5 separate regions of the Homo sapiens genome follow, and regions 1, 3, 4 and 5 are each linked to region 2. The links are contacts of gene promoters, found by promoter capture Hi-C in blood cells and fetal thymus (Javierre and others, 2016). All regions are on one chromosome and are shown on one strand. The core of a region is centred on a gene start or on the middle of the fragment in contact, and the rest is flanking DNA. Distances in the headings are between cores, read along the strand shown. Region 1 overlaps CMSS1 (cms1 ribosomal small subunit homolog). Region 2 holds the start of TBC1D23 (TBC1 domain family member 23). Region 3 overlaps CMSS1 (cms1 ribosomal small subunit homolog). Region 4 overlaps CMSS1 (cms1 ribosomal small subunit homolog). Region 5 overlaps CMSS1 (cms1 ribosomal small subunit homolog).

Region 1 (2,781 bases), core at 115-2,614, 180 kb before region 2:
TTTCTGATCTCCAGGGATCCATGAATATTGTTTGACTTCACCTCTGTTTCTTCTACCATCTCCACCTTTAGTGCCATGTGAGGAACTTATTAATGTAACGTCTTCTCAGATTTCCAGGTCATTAATAAAGTTGTTTAATAAGATCTTTTGTGCAGCCTGGGAATTAGTCAGACTTACTCAGTATTTACAGCTCTGCTATCATTTCTTGCCCACTATTATGTCCTGTGTAGTTAAGGATGCAATAGAGACAAAAATTACTTTTCAAATTACAGTTCCTGCAAGAGATGTCTCTTCCCAGAAGACCCTTTACTGTTCCACATAAGAAATCAAAACTCTCATTTAATTAGAGAGGGCTTTCGGAACAAGGCTGGCCAGGGTACGCTTACATAAGCTTGTTTGCAGATTCCGGTTAGGTCTCCCAAGGTCACAGACAGCTGTGTTTTGCATTTAGCGTCCTTTGAAAGAAGAGTGGATGCTTGGATAGCTTGTACTTGACATGCAAAGAACTTAGGAACTGCATACTTTCACATGTTGCTCGTAGGTTCCAAGCAAATGGGAACACACCATCATGCAGAAACTCTCTATCTGCCGTTATCCTGTGAGCTCCCAATCAGTGATGCATGGTGTTCTTAAGAAGTAGACTCAGGCAACAGCCAAAGTCATTTCTTTCTCTTACAATCTGAGAAGCAAGTATGTTTGTACTTCACTGAGAGTGTTTCAGGACAGCAACCAGTTTAAAAATAAGAGTAGTTAAACAAAAAAGGTGGTTAGCTATTAAGCCATGGCTGGATTTTATAGCACAAAAAGTTAATGCAAGGCAGTGTGTATTTAAGATAAGGAGGATTTAAGGAAATGGAGAGGGGAGAAGAGTAACATTCCAGGTAGAGGAATTGCAAGATAGCCTTCATCCCCACAAGAATTAACATAGTAAAACAGTACAGAATGAGATAAATTCAGTAAAAATAATAAGGAATTGGCTTTGCCCAGTGGCTCACACCTATAATCACAGTGAGGTGGGACAATGAATTGAGCCTAGTAGTTCAAGACCAGCCTGGGCAACATGGCAAGACCCTGTCTCTACAAGAAATAAAAAAATTAGCCAAGCATGGCTGTGCATGTCTGTGGTCCCGCTACTGGGAGGCTGAGACAGGAGGATCACTTGAGCCCAGGAGGTAGAGGCTATAGTAAGCTGTGTTCGCATCACTACACTCCAACCTGGGTGACAGAATAAGACCCTGTCTCAAAAAAAATAAGAATAATAAGGAATTATTAAAATAGAAATTTAGGACACCCAGTTTCACTTACTCAGACTCTAAAATGGAATGTCAGTCGTTTAACAGCCAGCTAAAACATTATTAATTGTACTAACAATATTGAGTTATCCTATTTATAAGTTAGAATTGGGCTTGCTTTAAAAAAAAAAAAGATAATATATGCTGGTTTGATAAAAATTTCATGTCAGTATTTTAGTATACAAACATCATATTGGTGCTAATATATTTGCTCCCATTCCTCAGAACAACTAAAGAAAAGTAAATTAACTTTTCAAAGTGTTGAAGTATATAGGAGGGAAAGTAACAGTAGTTATTGAAATAAAACACCCTCTAGAAATGCACCCTTGCATTTTAGCCAATAATTGATAAATCCAGAGAAAACGTAGAACTTTGCCTAATTTTTTTTTCTGTTACAGTTCTTACATGTAGAACGATGACATAACACATATGTAATATAAAACATAATGGTTGTCTTAATTCTCTATTGCTACATAGCAAACCACTCCAAAATGTAGTCGTTTAAAACAGCAATAATTTATTTTTTATTGACTAGGTCAAGGGTGTCCAATCTTTGGCTTCCCTGGGCCACATTGCAAGAATTGTCTTGGGCCACACGTAAAATACACCAACACTAGCGATAGCTGATGAGGTAAAGAAAAAAAAAATTGGCCTGGCATGGTGGCTCGCTGGCCTGTAATCCCAGCACTTTGGGAGGCCGAGGCAGGCAGATCACTTGAAGTCAGGAGTTCAAGACCAGCCTAGCCAACACGGCGAAACCCCATCTCTACTAAAAATACAAAAATTAGCCGAGCATCATGGCGGGTGCCTGTAATCCAAGCTACTCGGGAGGCTAAGGCCGGAAAATCCCTTGAACCTGGGAGGTGGAGGCTGCAGTGAGCCAAGATCACACCACTGCACTCCAGCCTGAGCGACAGAGTGGGACTCCATATCAAAAAAAACGGAAAAAAAGATTGCAAAAAATCTCATAATATTTTAAGAAAGTTCACTAATTTGTGTTGGGCCACATTCAAAGCTGTCCTGGGCCACATGTGGCCCACGTTGGACAAGCTTGGACTAGGTTCAACTAGATGGCTCTCTTTTCCAAATGAGGTGGGCAAGACCTCTGCAATAGCATTCAGCTGAGGCTGAAATGTACAAAATGACCCCTCATAATCCAGGCCTCTCTCCCCAGTCCTCTCAGCGTTAGCAGTCTTTTACAGTCTTTACAGCATGGTGACTGGCTTACGAGAATGCAAAGGTGAGAGTCGCCAGGCCATTTTGAGGCTTGTTTACACCCCAAAGTGGTAAAGAGTTACTATCGATGCTTTCTGTTGGTCGAAGTATTCAAAAAGCCAGCCTAGATTCAAGGTAGAGGAAATAGCCTTCACTTCTTGACAGGATGGATGGCAAAGAATTTGTAACCATCTTTAATTTCCATATAGTTGCTTAGTAAATATTTGTTGACTGATAGTACGAATATTGCATTTGAACTTCTTTATGTCCTTGG
Region 2 (2,700 bases), core at 2-2,501:
ATTTCCCTTTAGGGAAGAGAGTGAACATGTTTTTGGTTGTAAATGAGATAGCTGTACTGTTTTGTATCTATTTAAAACAAATAGTTTTTGAAACTATGAAACATTTTAGATACCTAAGTATAGACTCTATAAAGAACACTGGCCACCTATGTGGCCACCTTGGGGCCCTTAATAAATATTTAAAAATTCATGGAAACTCCTCCCTTTCCCTGAATGTAACTGCCATTCCGAGTTTTCTATATATCATTCTCCTGCATTTTAAACTCATATGGATCTATTTTAAATATATTGTCTTTTAAACACCAACTATAAATGATACCATACTTTACCTATCCGTCTGCAATCTGTTTTGCTCATTTAACAGCGTATTTTTCAGATGTATCCATATTGTTACATGCAGTTCTACTTCATCACTGTTGTTTTCAGGGCTTGCAAAAGCGTTTCTTTAGGTCCATCCTCCTGAGCGTGTGCTCACCCCAAGGCCCCGGCGGTGGCCAAGTGTCCGCCCATGCGGTGTAAAGGGGAAGTGGAACGCGTAGAGAAGGATTTTGGCAGCTCTGCTTGCCTGGAATTCCAGTCCTAGAATTCTAAATTCGGACTTGATCTTCCAGACTGTTAGGAAGATATATTTAAGGTAGGAGGCTAGAACGTATCTCCTTTAGTATATAGCTTCATTTACAACTTTTAAATATTCAGTCAAAAAGTATGTGGGCCTTCATTTACACTTTTGACGGGGCCTCACAAATAGGGGTGGTCTGCCCCTTTCCTTACGTCCCACTCTTTCTTCAAATTAAATTGCTACAGCAGGAAATTACTGAACTGTGGCTCTTCTCCTACGTCCGCCTTCCCTATGTCAATTCCCATTTCCCTTGCTTTCTCCAATAGTTAGGACTGTAAATTCTAACTTTGTTAATTTCGACGCCAAGCTGGAATGAAGACGCTAAGTGGACGCTAAAAAGACACGCTGTTTGTCACACAAGGCCTCCAACTGGGACGGCGTCCACCGCGCCCCGCCCCGCCCGCGGCACCGTGGCATCTTGGGACATGTAGTCTTTGGAGGGGCAGCTGCCTCCACCAAGTCTCCTCCCCCAAGACGCTGCCTTTCGGCCTCGGGACGCCGTGACGTTGCGTTCCTCCAGTCCCTTGCCACCTCCCTCTTTCTTCCCCTCTGGGGAAGCTCAGTGCTGGACTTCCGAAGACCTTTTACGACATTGAGTCTCGGAGTTGGTCTCAGCGCCGGATCCACTTTTCGGCAAAGTGACGTGGACGTCAACAGCAATGGCGGAAGGAGAAGATGTGCCGCCGCTGCCAACGTCGAGCGGCGACGGCTGGTGAGTGAAAGCCGGGGCTAATTTCCAATGCCCCTTTATTCTTCCTTCTCACCATCTTGCCGGTCCCCGAGGAGCCGTCTGGCGTCGGCATGGAACGGAGAGGCCGGTCCTAGGCGAAGTCCGGTGCCCTGCCCTACCCCTCTGCCAGCTGGGTGCCCCCTGCCTGCCTGGTTCTGCCCAAGGGACTGGGGCGGGACTCCCAAGGAGAGGGGTGTCATCCAGGTGCTGGGCCTCAGAACGGTCCTCCTGTGTCGTCTGTCAGTCTCCAAAGTGTGCTGGAGTGGGTGGCTTCAGGGCTGGGTTTGGCCGGAGTCCTGGCTGTGGGAGTTGGAGTAGGCTGAAGAAGGAAGTTTGTTGGATGCAGATCTGAGTCACTAAAATACAATGTGAAGAAAAGACGTTTTGAAATGACCACTGCGACCTTCGCCTGAGGGTTCAGAGGTTGACCCGAGGAGAATCCCTCCCACTTAGTTGGTATACTTTTTTTTATTCTGGCTGTTATCTCGTTTTGCATTCCAACAGTTTTCATCGTTCGTCTCCTTCACGCAAGTCATCTTTTCCCCTACTACCACATTTCTCACAGCTCGATTTCTGAGCTTTGGATGCAGTGTGGGACTTTGCTCTTACTGCACCCAAGCTGTTGCATGCTTACCTGATTTATACTCGGGATTGTGGGGGAAGACCGCCAATAATTTTTTGGTAAACTGCTCACCCAGTGTTAATCTTTGGGAAAGGCTTCTACTTTTGAAATAGTTGATCTCACGATACACTGTTAGGTTGTACAACATCATTTTTTAAAAAGGGACCTTTAGAGGCTTGTCTAAATTTTACAGTTGATCTAAGTGTATTGACCACATGTATTAGTTTTGGATTTGCTTGTTCGTTATATTGTATGTGTACAGCTCATGGGCACTTTAAAAATAATACAGGACATTGATAGACATCGACTTTAATCCCAGAGGAAAAAAATGGAAATCGTTGAAAGGGATAGATAATTAGTAATTAAGAAATTCAGCTCTCCATTAGCAGACATCAAACATTACCGTAGCGCTGGGCTCTCCAAGGTGTCAGAGGAAAACTTCATGGTGATCTAGATATAGTTTTTTTTTCTTCAACTTGCTTATGTTGGAGTTGGGAAGGTGTAACAAGGTAAAATTAATCTTATTCTTTGTGAGTGTGATTCAAAGTGTTACGAGAGGTTGGCGGTGGGGGCTGGGGCAGTTGGAGTCACTGGGGGAAAGCTTCATGAAAGCAGCAGTGTTTCAACTAGGCTTTGAAGAATAAGTAGGATTTAAGCCCCAGGGCTGTCTAATAGAAGCCACATATTGTAATTTAAAATTATGTAGTAGCAGCATTTAAAACTGAAAAG
Region 3 (2,717 bases), core at 142-2,641, 240 kb before region 2:
CTGGGTGAAACAGCCAAGGGGTAAAAGACATAAAAATATGAATTGACAGGAGAGTAACCTCTCAAACCTTACCCTTACCGAAAGGAATAGCAGGTGATTGAAAATTAATAATAAGTGATGACATTTAAAAAATAATCTTAAAGTTCTTTAAAAATTTATTTTTAGTGATTTAATTTCTAAAAAGATTTTTAAAGTAATTTTTTAAAAGAGAAAAGTAAATACGTAAAATTGTTCTATTTTAATGTATTTAAAGACAGTAGTAGATACTTTTTTCCTCTAAAATTATTTCTAGATATCTTGACTATTGCTGTTGACTGTCTTTCCATTCCTTTTCTATGTAAAACTCTTCTCTTTTTAAACAGTATGAATGTATGCTGATGTATGTTTGTGTAAGACTGCGATTCACATTCTACAGAACTATCATCTTTCAAACTATTACAGCAAAATTAAGGAGTAAGATAATTTTTCATCATATTGTCATCCAACTTCATGACTTATTTTCATTTTTTTAATGTACTTGGCATGTATGGAAGAGAATTCCAGAAAGCTACAGTGACTCTTTTTTTCACTTAAAGGAAGTGGCTAGAATGAGATTGAGGGCAGGGGGGAATGTGGCACAAGGAAACTGGCTTAAAAGCTCTGTGTGTATTATGTGCAATTTTATTTTCTGAGTAATATCACTGATTCAGTAATTACCCTGGGTAGTAGCCATACAAGCTTTCTTGTTCCCTGGAAAGCCTTACTATAATCCAGAACTTTGCTAGCATATCATATACCTTGTAATTTTATTTTCTAAAATTAAGTGGCATTTAATGTCTTCATTTCCCCATGTAACCTTTTAAAAGCCTTGTATCTTCATTTATTTTATTGCTCCCACACCCTCTTTCTGTTTCACATAATTCTTTGCAATTTACTTCACTATTCTGCAAATAAATCATTTGCAGATTTTCTAAAAGCTGTATTCTCGCATTTAGGACTTGGTGCCATGGTTTCTTAGTAGAAGACAACTTTACAACCAGAAGTTGCAAGTTCCCCAAGTTCAAAATCTGTACATGTTTGCACTAGAAAGCCAAAATATTCCCTCTGTAGTCACTGAACTTCCAAAAGAAAATACATGCTGTCAGCCTAGACAGAATTGATTCATTTAGGCTCTAATCGTTTTGAAGGCCTCAGGTAGGGCTTGCGAGACTTAGCATTGCTTTGGCCATTCTGTTTTGAGGACTGCAATTGGGTTATATCTTTTGCCATAAGCTAAAAGGAATAGCAGCAGATTGAAAATGAATAATAATTGATAACATTTTTAAAATAGTCTTAAAGTTCTTAAAAAGTGTTTATTTTTAGTGATTTCATTTAAAAATTGCAAAGCGAGTATACATGTTACTATTAACTTACTAAGAACTATTTTTTAGAAAGTAATGAATAATTAGCTTTTTTTTTTTTTTTTTTTTTTTTTGAGACAGAGTCTTGCTCTGTTGCCAGGTTTGGAGTACAGTGGCACGATCTCAGCTCACTGCAACCTCTGCCTCCCAGGTTCAAGTGATTCTCCTGCCTTAGTCTCCCAAGTAGCTGGGACTACAGGCATGCGCCATCATGCCCAGCTAATTTTTGTATTTTTAGTAGGGACAGGGTTTCACCATGTTGGCCAGATGGTCCTGATCTCTTGACCTTGTGATCTGCCCGCCTTGGCCTCGCAAAGTGCTAGGATTACAGGCGTGAGCCACCACGCCTAGCCTAATTTTGCATTTTCTTAGTGCCAGTGTGCTGTACTTTTCAAGGCCGGTCAATTGCCTAAGACCTCAAATCCTGACGCAAAATTCCCCAGCTTACTGCTCTCACATAGAACACACTTGTGCCAGTGTCACTGCTTTTCCAGGCATGCAAGCAAAACCATTGGAAGTAGCTGAATTTCTAGTGACACCCTATAGAGCTCTCCTTATATATAATAAGTTCATTCTTCTTTGGAGTTGTTAAAAAGTGAGGCTCAGGTTTTTGTGCCCTCAACTTTATCCCCCTTGGTTTATTGCTGCCTTCCAAGTTCAGCATCTCAGCATTTTTATTTCAAGAAATAAGCTTATGATGCACAGCATTAAGCAAGACACTTTGGGAGAGGAGGAACCCTTCCCGGAATTTCAGAAGTCTCCTTGTAGAGAAAATTCCTGTAATGTTTTGTTTTACTTCAAAAATCTGAGTGCCAGAAAGAACAGAGTCAAGAAAGGAGCTATCGTGAGCTCTTGAATTTGAAGCAAAGTCTGTACTGTGACCCCATTTTAGAAGATCACTGGCCCTCCATAGAGCACTACTTTGAACAAATCAGTGAATTTTAAATCAAGTGTCTTGGTTGCTTATATTTTTAAAATCTCAAAAGATCTAAATTCAGATGCCAGTGAAAGCTTTGTAAAGGGAACCTCCCCTTCCTCAGCCTACCCTTAACTTGCATTCTAGGAACTTCTAGGTGCTTTAGATATCCCCTAAATGATTAAAGAATAGATTATAATTCAATAGAACAGTGATTTGCTGGTTAAAGGAAGAATAGCTGATACTTTATGAAACTGTTCTTAGAATAGCTTGGATGCTAGATCCCATTGTGTGTGTGTGTGTGTGTGTGTGTGTGTGTGTGTGTGTGTGTGTGAGAGAGAGAGAGAGAGAGAGAGAGAGAGAGAGATATGAGGGGGGCACCAAGACAGACATAGTTATACCCATTTCCTTTTTCCATAAAG
Region 4 (2,700 bases), core at 86-2,585, 200 kb before region 2:
AGGAGCCAGGAAGGTTTGTGAGCCAGAAGGCGGGGGCCAAGTGCAGGACAGAGTAGTGACTGGGACTGTACTGTAATGAAAAGGACCCATCATGCCTGAAGAAGTCAGTCATTACACAACTCCAGCTGACTGGAACCATCCATATGTGCCGGCCTAGAATTGTCAGAGCTTCCAGTTTGTCAAGAGAAATCAGAAATCCAGATTTCTGTGTGTATGTATCATCTCCTGATTTTTAAAAAACTCTGGCAACTAATTCATATTCTTCAAAAACATCATGTAGGCCAAACAAAACATGCATGTGGACTGGATTCAACCTATGAGCCTCCAGTCTGGGGAGTTCTGGCCTCGTTAGTGAGGTAAATCACATATGTATGAAATGATTAATTTAAAATGTGACCCATATGACTAGGGGTGGCACAGGCAGTTTTCCTGCTGGAGGAGGACGGTTGGGGAAATGGGGGCGGGGGGAAGATGGGCTCCAGGTACATGTGCCCTCAGCTGTGCCGGGTATGGTAAAGGGATTTGAGGAAACTGGAGGTGTGTGTCACATGGTGGGTGGGCTACGGTGCCAGACTGAAGAGGTTGAGATTTACTTTCTATGTCATGAGGAGCCCCTAAAGATTTTTTTGATCTACTATTTTAGAAAATAAAATCTACTGGGAGGTAAAGGAGTGAAGTACCATGCAAGGAGAAACCATGAGGAGACTCTTGCCTTAGTACTTTAACTGTTTCCCACTCCACCTCCTCTTCCATCCCTTTATACCACATCCAAAAACCATCTTCCTGATGCCCTTCTAAGAGAAGGCAGCTCCTTGGCCTAGCAAGGTAGCTTTAAAGTATGCCAATGCCCTAAACGAAAACAAGAAAATGAAATCAGAGCACATTAGAATAGCATCTTCACCCAAGAAAAAAAAAATACATAAAAATGCTTAGCTACCACCTCTCACTGAGTAAAAACCACCACTTAAGAAACAAATAGGGGCTCGGCGCAGTGGCTCACACCTGTAATCCCAGCACTTTGGGAGGCTGAAGCAGACAGATACCTTGAGCTCACAAATTTGAGACCAGCCTGGGCAATATAGTGAAACCCCATCTCCACAAAAAATAGAAAAACACAAGATTTAGCCAGGCACAGGGTGTGTGCCTGTAGTCCCAGCTACTCTGGAAGCTGAGGTGGGAGGATAACGAGCGTGGGAGGCGGAGGTTGCACTAAGCCAAGATCACACACCACTGCACTCCATCCTGGGCAATAGAGCCAGATCTTGTCTCGAAAAAATAAAAATAAAAAACAAATAGGGCATCTCTTTGAGCCATACAGATCTATCAATGGCCTGCATGGCTTTGAAATGGAAGTGCAAGTTGCAGAACCACATCCTCATTAACCGCACGAGGTGATGAGTTGCAGCATAGCAATAGCCACACACAAGAAACCACACCCTTTGCCCCAAGATTTATTAGCAGGGCTTTCTCTCTTAAGTGGCCAATAGATGTGCACATAGAAGTTGACCTTTACTTCTAATCAAGGCAGAAAGGCACTGTTAAAATTTAAAAAAAAAAAAAATTTTAAAAGGAAGGAAGGGTACAATTTTTAGATTTTAAAAACTATACTTCTTCTAAATAAACCTAAAATACCAAAAACAAGTGATCCCTCTGTACACACTGAGTATGTTTGTGTAATGAGAGGCTCCTTATCTCTGGACAGCCAGATGGGGTGAGTCCAAGTTGGGGCCAAGCACATGACATTCGAAAATCTTCACAGGTGGTTGAGGACCCTGCACAGTTTTGCTTAGAGATTAAAACTTAAATGTTTGGCTGATGTAGGCAATTCTTGGTTATTCCAGGGTGTTAATTTTCCCAGGCCCTTGTTTTACTTTCTTTCTCCTCCTACCCACATTTTCACTATTTTATTTCTTATTAATACCTCCTGCAGAGAATGAAAAGAAGAAGAGAAAGAAGATGGAACTTTTTTAAAAAATTGCTTTACCTCATAATAAGAGCAGTACTAATAATTACAACACCATTAACAACCACTAGCATTTCTTGGACTTTTATTGCATTCTAGGTGCTAAGTGCTTTACACATATGAATTCATTTAATTCATTTAACCCTCACTACCTCCGAGGTGCATGTCGTTATCCTCCCATTCTGAGGTGAGAAAACTGAAGCACAGAGAAGGTAATGCAATACCCAAGGACTCACAGCTAGGAAATATCAGAGGCAAGATTTGAAGCCAAGAAGACTGATTCCAGAGACTTCACTTTTTTCATTTATTCATTTATTGTGGTAAAATATATATAATACAAAATCTGTCATTTTAACTATTGCTAACTGTGCAGTTTAATAGCATTAAGAACATTCACATTGTTATGCAACCAAGACTACTACCCATCTCCACAAACTTTTTCATCTTCCCAAATTGAAAGCCTTTACTACTCTATATTACTTCCCTAGTAATACTTAGAGATCTGGAAATATCCACTTGTGGTTATCCTGTCTTCTTCTTTTTTTTTTTTTTTTTTTTTTTTTTTTTTTTTTTTGAGACGGAGTGTTGCTCTGTCCCCCAGGCTGGAGTGCAGTGGCGCGATCTTGGCTCACTGCAAGCTCCGCCTCCCGGGTTCAGGCCATTCTCCTGCCTCAGCTGCCCGAGTAGCTGGGACTACAGGCGCTCGCCACCACGCCCAGCTATTTTTTTGTATTTTT
Region 5 (2,700 bases), core at 112-2,611, 160 kb before region 2:
GAAACTGAAACAGGAAAACATTGGAGAAACTTTTCAAGACATTGGTCTGGGTAAAAATTTATTGAACAATACCCCACCAGCACAGGCAACCAAAGCAAAAATGGACAAATGGGATCACATCAACTTAAAAAGCTTCTGCCCAGCAAAGGAAACAATCAACAAAGTGAAGAGAAACCCACAGAACGGGAGAAAATATTTGCAAACTACCCATCTGACAAGAGATTAATAACTGCAGTATATAAGGAGCTCAAACAACTACATAAGAAAAAAATGAATAATCCAATTTAAAAAATAGGCATAAGATTTGAATAGACATTTCTCAAACGAAGACATACAGATGACAAACAGGCATATGAAAAGGTGCTCAAAATCATTGATCATCAGAAAACTGCACATCAAAACTGTAATGAGATATTATCTTACCCCAGTTAAAATGACTTTTATCCAAAACACAGGCTGGAAAGGATGTGGAGAAAAGGGAACTCTCATACACTGTTGGTGGGAATGAAAATTGGTACAACCACTGTGGACAACAGTTTGGAGGTTCCTCAGAAAACTAAAACTAGAGCTACCATATGATCCAGCAATCCCACTACTAGGTACATACCCCAAAGAAATGAAATCAGTATAGCAAAGAGAGATCTACACTCCCATGTTCATTGCAGCACTGTTCACAATAGCCAAGATTTGGAAGCAACCTAAGTGTCCATCAACAGATGAATGGATAAAGAAAATGTGGTACTTAAACACAATGGATACTATTCAGCCATAAAAGATAATGAGATCCTGTCATTTACAACAACATGGATGGAACTGGAGGTCATTATGTTAAGTGAAATAAGCCACGCACAAAAAGACAAACATCACATGTTCTGACTTATTTGTAGGATGTAGAAATCAAAATAATTGAACACATGTTGATGGAGAGTAGAGGGATGGTTACCAGAGTCTGGGAAGAGTAGTAGGGGGTGGGGAGGAGATGGGGTTAGTTAAGGAGTACAAAAAAAAAAAAGAAAGAATGAATAACACCAGGTATTTGATAGCACAACAGAGTGACTACAGTCAAATTAATTTAATTGTACATTTTAAAATAACTGAAAGAGTATAATTGGATTGTTTGTAACACAAAGGATAAATGTGTGAGGGAATGGATACCTTATTTCCCATGATGTGATTATTATACATTGCTTTCCTGTATCAAAATATCTCATATACCCCATAAATATATACACCTACTATGTACCCACAAAAATTAAAAATAAAAAAATTTTAAATGAAAGCCAATACAGTATAACAACTATTTACATAGCATTTATATTGCATTACACCCTGGGCCACAGATCATACCACTCTGTGGCCTGTTAGGAACCAGGCCACAAAGCAGGAGGTGAGCAGCAGGCAAGCCAGCATTACTGTCATTACTCCACTTCCTGTGAGATCAGCAGCATTAGATTCTCATAGGAGCACAAACCCTATTGTGAACTACAGAACTGCACATGCGAGAGATCTAGGTTACATGCTCCTTATGAGAAAGACTAATTCCAGTTGCCCTGAGATGAACAGTTTCATCCCCAAACCACCAACCATCCCATCCGTGGAAAAATTGTCTTCCACAAAACCAGTCCCTGGTGCCTAAAAGGTTGGGAACCACTGTTGTATTAGATATTGTAAGTAATCTAGACATTTTTTAAAGGCTACAGGAGGATCTGCATGGATTATATGCAAATACTGTGCTATTTTATATCACTGACTTGAACATCCTCAGATTTTGGTATCTGAAGGGAGTCCTGGAACCAATCTTCTGTGGATATGGAGGGACAACCCGGTATTCTAATCCACGAACACAGTATATCTCTCTATTTTTAGATATTTGATGTCTTTCATGAGCATTTTGTAGTTTTCAGTATACAAGCCTATATATATACATGTTTTGTTGGATTTACATCTAAAAGTGAGATTGCACTCTGTTTTTAAAGCCATGTATTTGTGAACATGTACGTCATGAATATTTTCTAAACTATTAGGTTATTTTCAGCACCATTAATAGACTCTAATAATTAGTTCTGGATTTGAATATTCTTCGTTATTTGGCAAATATCACAAAGACTACTTGGTTATTAAATTTTTCCTAGCCCAGGATTAGGCCTCCATTTCAACAAAATACTCAGCTGGATACTTGCTACCTTCTAAGTTGCAATGGCTTTGTTGCACTTTTTCTGAATAGCTTTGTGTTATATTTTTACTCAGTAGAAACTCTTATCATTTATTTTGTTGGTTTTTTAAAATTTCATCAACGGTAGCATATCTGACAAGGTAATAGTGATTTTTAATGTTTAGCTAGGCATAGTAATGGTACGTGCCACATTGCTATTTGAAAAATCTAGTAAAACAAGAATAGCAACAAGATCATAGGTCAGGGACTACTTTGACTCTTGGCTGTGCTGTAATTTGTTATTGCCAACCCACTGGAGTCTGTACTGCTTGCAGCACAGCCAGCTGAAAGCCTCCCTGTGATTCCCTCACCAGTTAGCAGATTCACATTTTATGACAGGTAAAAAAACAAACTACACGGTACCTGTATTGGTGATGATAAGCTTCAGTAGAAGGAGGTAACGAGAAGTAAAGAAACAAGCACTGTGTTTTAGAGTGAAAAACCCTATATTTGAATGCCATTTCCACCATTTAAACTGCTCTTTGACC

The links. Contacts are between HindIII fragments. The CHiCAGO score rates a contact against its expected background, and 5 or more counts as called.
Region 1: a fragment that was not itself captured here is called in contact with the fragment with the promoter of TBC1D23 in region 2 in 13 of 17 cell types (neutrophils, non-activated CD4 T cells, activated CD4 T cells and 10 more); the score reaches 9.5 in neutrophils.
Region 3: a fragment that was not itself captured here is called in contact with the fragment with the promoter of TBC1D23 in region 2 in 3 of 17 cell types (megakaryocytes, erythroblasts and M1 macrophages); the score reaches 6.9 in megakaryocytes.
Region 4: a fragment that was not itself captured here is called in contact with the fragment with the promoter of TBC1D23 in region 2 in 15 of 17 cell types (erythroblasts, megakaryocytes, endothelial precursors and 12 more); the score reaches 11.8 in erythroblasts.
Region 5: a contact is called between a fragment that was not itself captured here and the fragment with the promoter of TBC1D23 in region 2, in 1 of 17 cell types (neutrophils). The highest score is 5.5, in neutrophils.

Annotation. Positions count from the first base shown.
Region 1 is chr3:100,076,666-100,079,446 of GRCh38, forward strand. All of the region lies in intron 1 of CMSS1 (cms1 ribosomal small subunit homolog), which reads left to right. The region is part of intron 1 of FILIP1L (filamin A interacting protein 1 like); the gene reads right to left. Among named protein-coding and RNA genes, the nearest start is that of FILIP1L, 36 kb to the right of the region's middle. The HindIII fragment of the contact is 1,951 bases long and covers 390-2,340 here.
Region 2 is chr3:100,259,741-100,262,440 of GRCh38, forward strand. TBC1D23 (TBC1 domain family member 23) reads left to right here and starts at 1,252. Exons shown (of 19, transcript NM_001199198.3): 1 at 1,252-1,331. The coding sequence starts at 1,279. RefSeq lists enhancers at 656-1,324, 1,060-1,549, 1,325-1,993. The HindIII fragment of the contact is 5,201 bases long and covers 1-2,570 here.
Region 3 is chr3:100,019,333-100,022,049 of GRCh38, forward strand. All of the region lies in intron 1 of CMSS1 (cms1 ribosomal small subunit homolog), which reads left to right. All of the region lies in intron 1 of FILIP1L (filamin A interacting protein 1 like), which reads right to left. The region is part of intron 2 of LOC105374010 (a long non-coding RNA gene); the gene reads left to right. Among named protein-coding and RNA genes, the nearest start is that of MIR3921, 56 kb to the left of the region's middle. The HindIII fragment of the contact is 1,353 bases long and covers 716-2,068 here.
Region 4 is chr3:100,059,593-100,062,292 of GRCh38, forward strand. The region is part of intron 1 of CMSS1 (cms1 ribosomal small subunit homolog); the gene reads left to right. The region is part of intron 1 of FILIP1L (filamin A interacting protein 1 like); the gene reads right to left. Among named protein-coding and RNA genes, the nearest start is that of FILIP1L, 54 kb to the right of the region's middle. The HindIII fragment of the contact is 3,666 bases long and covers 1-2,700 here.
Region 5 is chr3:100,095,661-100,098,360 of GRCh38, forward strand. The region is part of intron 1 of CMSS1 (cms1 ribosomal small subunit homolog); the gene reads left to right. The region is part of intron 1 of FILIP1L (filamin A interacting protein 1 like); the gene reads right to left. Among named protein-coding and RNA genes, the nearest start is that of FILIP1L, 17 kb to the right of the region's middle. The HindIII fragment of the contact is 2,462 bases long and covers 131-2,592 here.